Regions from separate parts of the Homo sapiens genome. Here region 2 is linked to region 1. The links are contacts of gene promoters, found by promoter capture Hi-C in blood cells and fetal thymus (Javierre and others, 2016). All regions are on one chromosome and are shown on one strand. The core of a region is centred on a gene start or on the middle of the fragment in contact, and the rest is flanking DNA. Distances in the headings are between cores, read along the strand shown. Region 1 holds the start of ADAMTS16 (ADAM metallopeptidase with thrombospondin type 1 motif 16). Region 2 overlaps ADCY2 (adenylate cyclase 2).

Evidence for each region. Contacts are between HindIII fragments. The CHiCAGO score rates a contact against its expected background, and 5 or more counts as called.
Region 2: a fragment that was not itself captured here is called in contact with the fragment with the promoter of ADAMTS16 in region 1 in 1 of 17 cell types (total B cells); the score reaches 10.8 in total B cells.

Annotation. Positions count from the first base shown.
Region 1 is chr5:5,138,881-5,142,663 of GRCh38, reverse strand. ADAMTS16 (ADAM metallopeptidase with thrombospondin type 1 motif 16) reads right to left here and starts at 2,334. Exons shown (of 23, transcript NM_139056.4): 1 at 2,125-2,334; 2 at 1,898-2,000. The coding sequence starts at 2,196. It overlaps ADAMTS16-DT (ADAMTS16 divergent transcript), which reads left to right and starts at 2,610. Exons shown (of 4, transcript NR_109915.1): 1 at 2,610-2,708. It overlaps ADAMTS16-AS1 (ADAMTS16 antisense RNA 1), which reads left to right. Exons shown (of 2, transcript NR_198969.1): 2 at 293-526. RefSeq lists an enhancer at 2,562-3,128. The HindIII fragment of the contact is 3,896 bases long and covers 156-3,783 here.
Region 2 is chr5:7,804,028-7,807,810 of GRCh38, reverse strand. It overlaps ADCY2 (adenylate cyclase 2), which reads right to left. Exons shown (of 25, transcript NM_020546.3): 22 at 3,119-3,226. Among named protein-coding and RNA genes, the nearest start is that of CFAP90, 45 kb to the left of the region's middle. The HindIII fragment of the contact is 7,785 bases long and covers 1-3,783 here.

The DNA of each region.
Region 1 (3,783 bases), core at 1,085-3,584:
GTTATTTCAGAACCAACTTGTCTAATGGATACCTAGACAGGCAACAGTAAGTTGACCCCAGCAGTCACCAAGTGTCTTCTAGCTCTTCTGCTCCAGGTCAGAGGGAAACAGGCAACACTGTTGAGGAGGATCTTTTCTCTGGTGGCATAAAAGCTTGTTGTGGATGTCCAGACTCACACATTAGCCATTTATAATTAAGGAGCTAAAGTGCATAGAAGGTAGGGGAGGAGGGTGTGTGCTGTGTCCACTGGGCTAGAACTTCACTAAGAAGGGTTTGCCTCTTCCCCTTCAGGTTCTTACCAAGCCAGATAAGTGGTTGTCATGGAGACGATACGTTGTGACAACAACTGTGGTGCCAGGTGTTCAGAGCAGCACACTGGCACCCCACTCCCAGAGAGGATGCTGAAGCAGATTGAATCACTTTAGGAGAAAAGCACACTTAGGCACGAAGCCCTGGCTTTTCTTCTTCTTTCTTCTGTGTCTATAATGTGTTTTATCTTAAATAAAACTTCATAAATGCCATAAACTATTGTGGAAATCTCCTGAGTCCCTCTGGAATTTTCATGGTTTTAGGGAACTAGAATTTTTTTTTTTTTTTTTACAAAAATCTTACTTAAAAAGGTGAATTAGAATTAACCTTTAAAATTGTAAGAATTAACTTTTAGTATTGTAAGCAAAACCCTAAAAAGGACAAGGACAACCACAAGAGGATAGTCTGTAAATGGACAGATAATTAACTTTCTCTTGTAAATTCACTGTGACAATTTTTTTTAACATTTTATATCATTTGCACCTAGCGCCCCCTGGTGGTTCTCAAAAAGGTACTATGGTGAGCGTCAATCTGACACCGGTCACCTTATATACTATTTGTGTACTCATTTGGCAGGGAATAATTTCAAAAGTTAATGCATATATTAAGTGCTTGCCTTTATGTTATTTTATCAAATTGAAATAACTATACTGAGAAATTCTGAATTGTTAACTTTAATTTTCTAGATCTTCTGGAAATACATTGAGAGAATGAAACCTAGTTCTTCCTATAAAAGTCAATTAATATTAACATTTGATACGGCAATTTATTGTTGGTAACAATGCAAAATAATATTTATTAACTGTCATTGGATGGGTTCAGGTTAAAAAACCACCTAGCAACCAGTGCGACACACCTGCGTTCTCATTTACCTGATGCAGTATGAAGACACAGAGATCCCTTTCCATAAGACAGCAAATTTCCAAATGTCACTTGTAAGTGGCAGAAGTAAAAGCATGCATTGAAAAAGAATAAGACTTGCCCTCATGTCAAATTGTGGCCCAGGATATGAACGTTGCTGATGGTGTCACAATCAGCTGATTAGCCATTTCAGGCACTATTATGTTTGAAGTACGCCCTGATTGTTGGAGCATTAACTTTGGTATTGAGATGCTAAGCGCTTCTTTTATCTCCTTCACTGAGAATAAGCAACGATAGAGGAATATTTTAATCTATAAAGGAGGAGAAGGAGGAAAGGTTGGGGACGGGAAGGAGGATCCGAGGATGTAGAAGGGGACGGAAAAGAAAGTAATTTGCTCTTTATGACGGCTTTGATGCATACATTAATAGCTTTAGATTCTTCCTAAGCTCTTTAGAATAAAATAAAATGAACTTCCTCACCTTTTTCCTAATGTTATATCAATAACTCTGGCAAACCGTTTTGCCAGGGAATAAAATGTAAATATTGGTGGAAATCCACTCATCGGGGCTCGCTCATACAGTTAAAAAAAAAAAAAGTTCACAACAGCATCTTAAAAGTAGGGTTCCACAGAGTCGTGAACATTCACAGCACCTAATAAACCAGCGGCACGGAGATTACGAGCTGCTAAATGGCAAGGATTAGAAGCCCCCACCTCACGGACTTACCGCCCTTTTCCATCCAGCCCGGCCGCTCCGCGGGTGGAGGAGGACGCGGGACGCTCGGGCTCCCAGGCGCTGCCGCTGCGGGTCCCATGGCGCACGCAGGTGCCTGCGGAAAACAGCGGCGACATCGCGGTGAGACGGCGGGGTCCGCGGGAGAGGAGCCGCGGGGGACTCGCCTCCAGCTGTCCGGACCCGCGGTTTCCGCGCTGGTGGGAGCGCCCGGGACTCACCTGCTCGGCCACCTGCGCCAACAGCATCCACAGCGCCGCCAAGCCCCGCCATCCGCGCGCGCGGGGCTTCATCCAGGAGCGCTCCGAGGGGCTAGGGGCCACCGGAGGGTCCCCGGCCGGCAGCGTGCGAGCGGGCAGGGAGGACCCGACCCAGGCAGAGCGCGGGAGGATTCCCCACAGCGACTCCGCCGCCGCGCCGGGGTTATTACTGAAGCTCCGTGCGGCGCGGGGGGCGGAGTGGCAGCCGCGGCGGCGGGGGCGGCGGGAGCGGTGGGAGAGCGCGGGGCGGGCAGGGGAGAGAGGAGGGGAGGAGGTGAGGGCGGGGGGGTCAGAGGACCGAGGAGGGGAGAGTGCAGGGACAAAGAGCAGAGGGGAGGAGGCGAGGTCAGCGGGGCGCTGAGGCGGAGGCGAGCGGGGAGCAGAGGGAAGGCGGGAGACAGCGGGCAGCGCCAGAGGAGGAGGACGCGGGAAGATGGAGCTGCCCACGGCCTGCAGTCCGTGCCTCTCTGCCCGCGCGGGGACCACACAGTTGGAGAGGCTGCCGGGCACCGGCGCGGGCGATGCTCAGCATGGACCTCCGGCCGGTGCGCGCTCCTGCCCTGCCTTGGGGCTGGGGACTCGGCGGGACTCCAGCTACTGCAGTGGCTCCGCGGGCTCCCACCTCCGGGCCGCACCGGCGCCGCCAGAGGCCGGGACACCTGCAGCCCGCGGAGTGCGGTCTGGCCGCGCCTCTGTGCCCGGGCACAGCTGTGGGGACACTGGGTGCGGAAAACCGGGCGCCAGGACGTGGGAGAGCCGCGGACCTGCCTTTAAAGGCGCGTGCCTCGCTCTGGAGTTTGCGGAGCGATCGGAGACGGGGAGGCTGAGGAGGAAACTCTTCCCCCGCGCCATTTGCCCCGAGATGTGGCGGCGCTCCTGGCCCCGCGGTCACGGCCACCCTCAACTGGCCAGGCCGCGGAGGCCGGTGACTGGCTGCTGGGTGCAATCCCTAGGGAGGTCTCAGGGCTGCGGATGGGCCTGGGTCTCGGCCGCCACGGGGGTCGATCGGGCTACTGTGTGGACAGGGTGGCCAAGGAGGCAGCAGGTGTGCGGTCAACAGCCTGGCCAGAATTCTGCTGTAGCTGGATGGGGTGTGTGAGCGCGCGGGTGTACATGTGCCTGGGTGTGCGCGGGTGTACATCCACACCTGACTGCGTGTGCGCGAGTACACGCTGTGAGCCCATAGTGTGTCTGGAATTGGTGGGTTCTTGGTCTCACTGACTTCAAGAATGAAGCCGCATACCCTCGCGGTGAGTGGGTACAGCTCTTAAGGTGGTGCGTCTGGAGTTTGTTACTTCTGATGTTCAGATGTGTTCGGAGTTTCTTCCTTCTGGTGGGTTCGTGGTCTCGCTGGCTCAGGATTGAAGCTGCAGACCTAGGCGGTGAGTGTTACAGCTCTTAAGGCAGAGCCTCTGGAGTTGTTCGTTCTTCCCGGTGGGCTCGTGGTCTCGCTGGGCTCAGGAGTGAAGCTGCAGATCTTCACGGTGAGTGTTACAGCTCATGAAAGCAGAGTGGACCCAAAGAGTGAGCAGTAGGCCGGGCGCGGTGGCTCACGCCTGTAATCCCAGCACTTTGGGAGGCCGAGGCGGGCGGATCACGAGGTCAGGAGATCGAGACCAT
Region 2 (3,783 bases), core at 632-3,131, 2.7 Mb before region 1:
GGTCAGGGCAGTAGGCTGAGGCAGAGGGTTGGGGCCCTGTTTCCAAAGTGGGGAGGACAAGAAGAAAATGGCAGTAGTGTTAGAAAGCAGGGTGTCTATAGGAAGCTGGAAGTGATCCAAGTCTGGCCCAATGGTCAAGATAGCGGATAGAGGTTTTGGTGGAGATCGAATGTGCAGAGGGGATAGATAAAGTCTTAGGAGAGGTCCCTGATAGAGAAGAGGGGTTGGGGAAAGAATATTACAATGTCCCACACAGAGGGAGCACAGGCTGGGGCCAGACAATGGAAGGGCTCAAAAGCCAAGGGAGGATTACCAGGCAAAGGCAACGGCCATCCACAGACAGGGCGTCACCTAGGACGAATGCTCAGAGAATGTGATTGGACTGGAATTTTGGAATCTGGAAGTGTTTTTTTGGTCATTAAGAGTAGAGTTCCTGATGGCATTGGTGAGGCAGGATTGTGGAGGTGTAGAGAGAAAGTAGAAGGTGAAAGATAAAGGCAGTGGCTATGGACTCTCAGTCTATAAAGCGTGGCTGCGGAAAGGAAGAGAAAAGACCTGGAGACTTTTCTTGAACATCCAGAAGACTGGGTCTGATGGAGGCAGAGTTAGGGTCAGGAAGAACAGGCAGACACGCACCCTGGGCTGTAGAGTGACACTGATTGTGGAACAGGTCTTCATGTGGTGGTGCCTCGGAAGATCTCCCACTCCGAGGCCCTGCCAAAGTATTGTTAGTTGGCTGTCCAAGAGCAAAGGGCTGGAGTGGATGTGATCAGGTGAAGTGCTCCTGATGGCCCTCATTAGATGAGCTGGAGAAGCCTCCAAGTCATAACTGGATGAGGGTGAGGTAAGTGAGGCACTCACCTCAGGAGAGAAACTTCAGAAGGAGAAAGAAGCTCAGCAATCATGAGAAATAATATGCTAGTGCAATATTTTTAAAAATCAAAATCAATGCAGAAAAATTCAAGATGAACTAAAATAATGAAATTTTAAATAAAGATACTGCTGTGGACAGGATTGTGTCCTCCCTAAAATTTATATGTTGAAGTGCTAACCTCCCAGGTGACTGTACTGAAGACAGAGCTTTGTTAGGAGGTAATTATGGTCAACTAAGATGATAAGGGTGGAGCTCCGATCCAACGGAACTGGTGCCCTCTTTAAAGTGGAAGAGAAACCAGCTCTCTCTCTGTCTCTGTCTCTCTCTCTCTCTCCCCTCCATGGGAGGCCTAAGAGAAGTGAGAAGGCTGCTGTGTGCAAGACAGAAGAGGAGCCCTCAGCAGACACCTAATCAGCCAGCACCTCAGTCCTGAATTTCCCAGCCTTCAGAACTGTGAGAAATAAATTTCTGTCATTTAAGCCACCCAGCCTGTGGTATTCTGCCTGGCAGGCCAAGCAGACTAAGACACATAGGTCCTGACAGTGTTGTGCTGAGCATCTTAGAGCCTGAGGCAGTAAGAAAAATGCCTGTCTCTATACATGTCTTAATGTTATTTTTTTTTTAATGGTCAATGTTTTCCAGAACATTAAAGGCATTGGAGGAGCATATATTTGTTTCCATGAAAGCCAGGAAACTAAAATTGTAATTAGTTCTGGTTTGGGTTATAAATAGAATATTTAAAATTAAAAGAATGTTGTACATTTTAATATCTCGATTTTACATTTTTTCAATTTTTTTAACACTTTAATGTTCTGGAAAAAACCCTAACCATTAAAAATCTACAACACCATGCAGAGGATACAGCAGTTTTCCTTTGGCCACAGACTCCATGATGGCTTGAGAGGGTGTTGCTCAGAATTCAAAGGCAAGGTTCTTCTGGGGTTTCTTTTATGGCTTGTTTCTTTTATTTTCTTTATTACTGAAGTAATGCATACTCATTAAAAAATAATAATCTGAAGGCAACCACCTGAAGAGGAGAACCAATGGAATACATATCACTCCAATTAACTGGAAGAATGCTAGGGTTCCATCTTGAGTCAGACGTCTATCCATGTTCTACTCTTTGCCCATGAATGCATGAATGTTAAGCGGGAAACTAGGACCCTCTCATGATATTCCTGGAAGAGGGAGCTCTGTTATGGTGCCTGCTGCCTCTCTCCCCACTCTCACTCTTCCCATGGGAGGTGGTTATGGGAGAGGGGCTCATACATGGTACTCAACCCTTCTTCTCTTTGAGAACCTGCCTGTCCACAGAAAGTGTGTTCTGGTAAGTGCAGTTTCTCTGTGGTCTGCCCAGCAGAGGGCAGGCTCCACAGCAAAGGCCACTGTCCTGAGGGGAAAGGAGGTCTTTTTTACTAATATTCCAACAAGTTACACAAGCATGTCTACATACATGCTGTCTCTCTCTCTCTCTCTCTCACACACACACACACGAGAAAATCTCGAAAACCTTAGTTGATTGAAGATATTCAATTTTGCCCAAATGACCTTTTCAATGAAATTTCCATGTGGCCAACTTGTTTTTTGACCACATTATTTTATTTTAATTCATTTTTTAGATGCGGTGTCACTCTGTCACACGGGCTGGAGTGCAGTGGTGCGATCTCAGTTCACTGCAACCTCCACCTCCCAGGCTCAACCATCCTCCCATCTCAGCCTCTTGAGTAACAGGGACCACAAGTGCATGCTACCACACCTGGCTATTTTTTTTTTTTGTATTTTTGGTAAAGACGGGGTTTCACTATGTTGCCCAGGTTGGTCTCAAACTCCTGAGCTCAAGAGATCCACCCACCTCGGCCTCCCAAAGTGCTGGGATTACAGACGTGAGCCACCGCACACGGCCTTGACTATATTCTTTTAAATCAAAAGACCTGGATCCATTCTTACTGAGTCTCCTTCAAATAACTAGCTTTCATCTTCTACTTCATTGTGTATTTATCTGGTAACAAGCAGCTACTGATTGGTTTTTCTTCTCCTGTTGGCCAGCAGAAGGAGTTCTGTGAACAGATCCTCTGGCTCTAAGAAGTCTGGAATTTTCATCTTCTCTCATAGGACCTTGACCCTGAGCTTTAGGTTGTACAAAATATACAGTTCTTGGGGCATTTCATGGCTGTTTTGGTCCCAGGGTGGTTTGTGGATGGGGTTGAGGCTCACCTGTGCCGTTAAGTGGCCAACGCGTCTTACCTGGGAGTGCTCCTGGCTGGGCACAGCGCTCAGACCTGTTGCTGCCATGTATGTGCTGCCAATGGTCTTAATCTTTTCAACTCCACTGAATTTTGGCTTGGAAAGAAGCTGTGAAGCAATGACAACCGTCCAGTTACTCAGCTGGATGCTGACCTGAAGCTGAGCATTTTATAGAGACATTCTCAAATGCTGGTTCACAGTAATGCCGTGACTTGTTTCAACCACTGCGTATGCACCCTTGGGCCCTGGGCTTTTCCAGGAATGAAAACTTCTTGTATTTCATACAGCGCATGTCCTTGGAGGAAAGTACAGCATAATGATTTACTTCCAAGGAACACGAATTAGCGTTCAAACTTTGCTAGTGAAGGAACCAAGATGAATTATGATGCAAATGACGATGGGCTTGAATAAATTTCCTGACTATGTATTTGAAAGGCATAAATATAAAATTATGATTCAATGAGTGAGCTCTTTCTTGCATGGTCAGAATGATTTATGATCAATTATTAGTGCTGAGGACTGGCTTTTGCCCTCTGAGTGCTTGAGGTGGATGGAATAAAGATCTAGAATGGTTGTCATCAGCCCTAGCCTAATATATGTATTAGGAAGAGAAACCAGCTCTCTCTCTCTCTCTCTCTCTCTCTCTCTCTCTTTCCCCCCTCCAT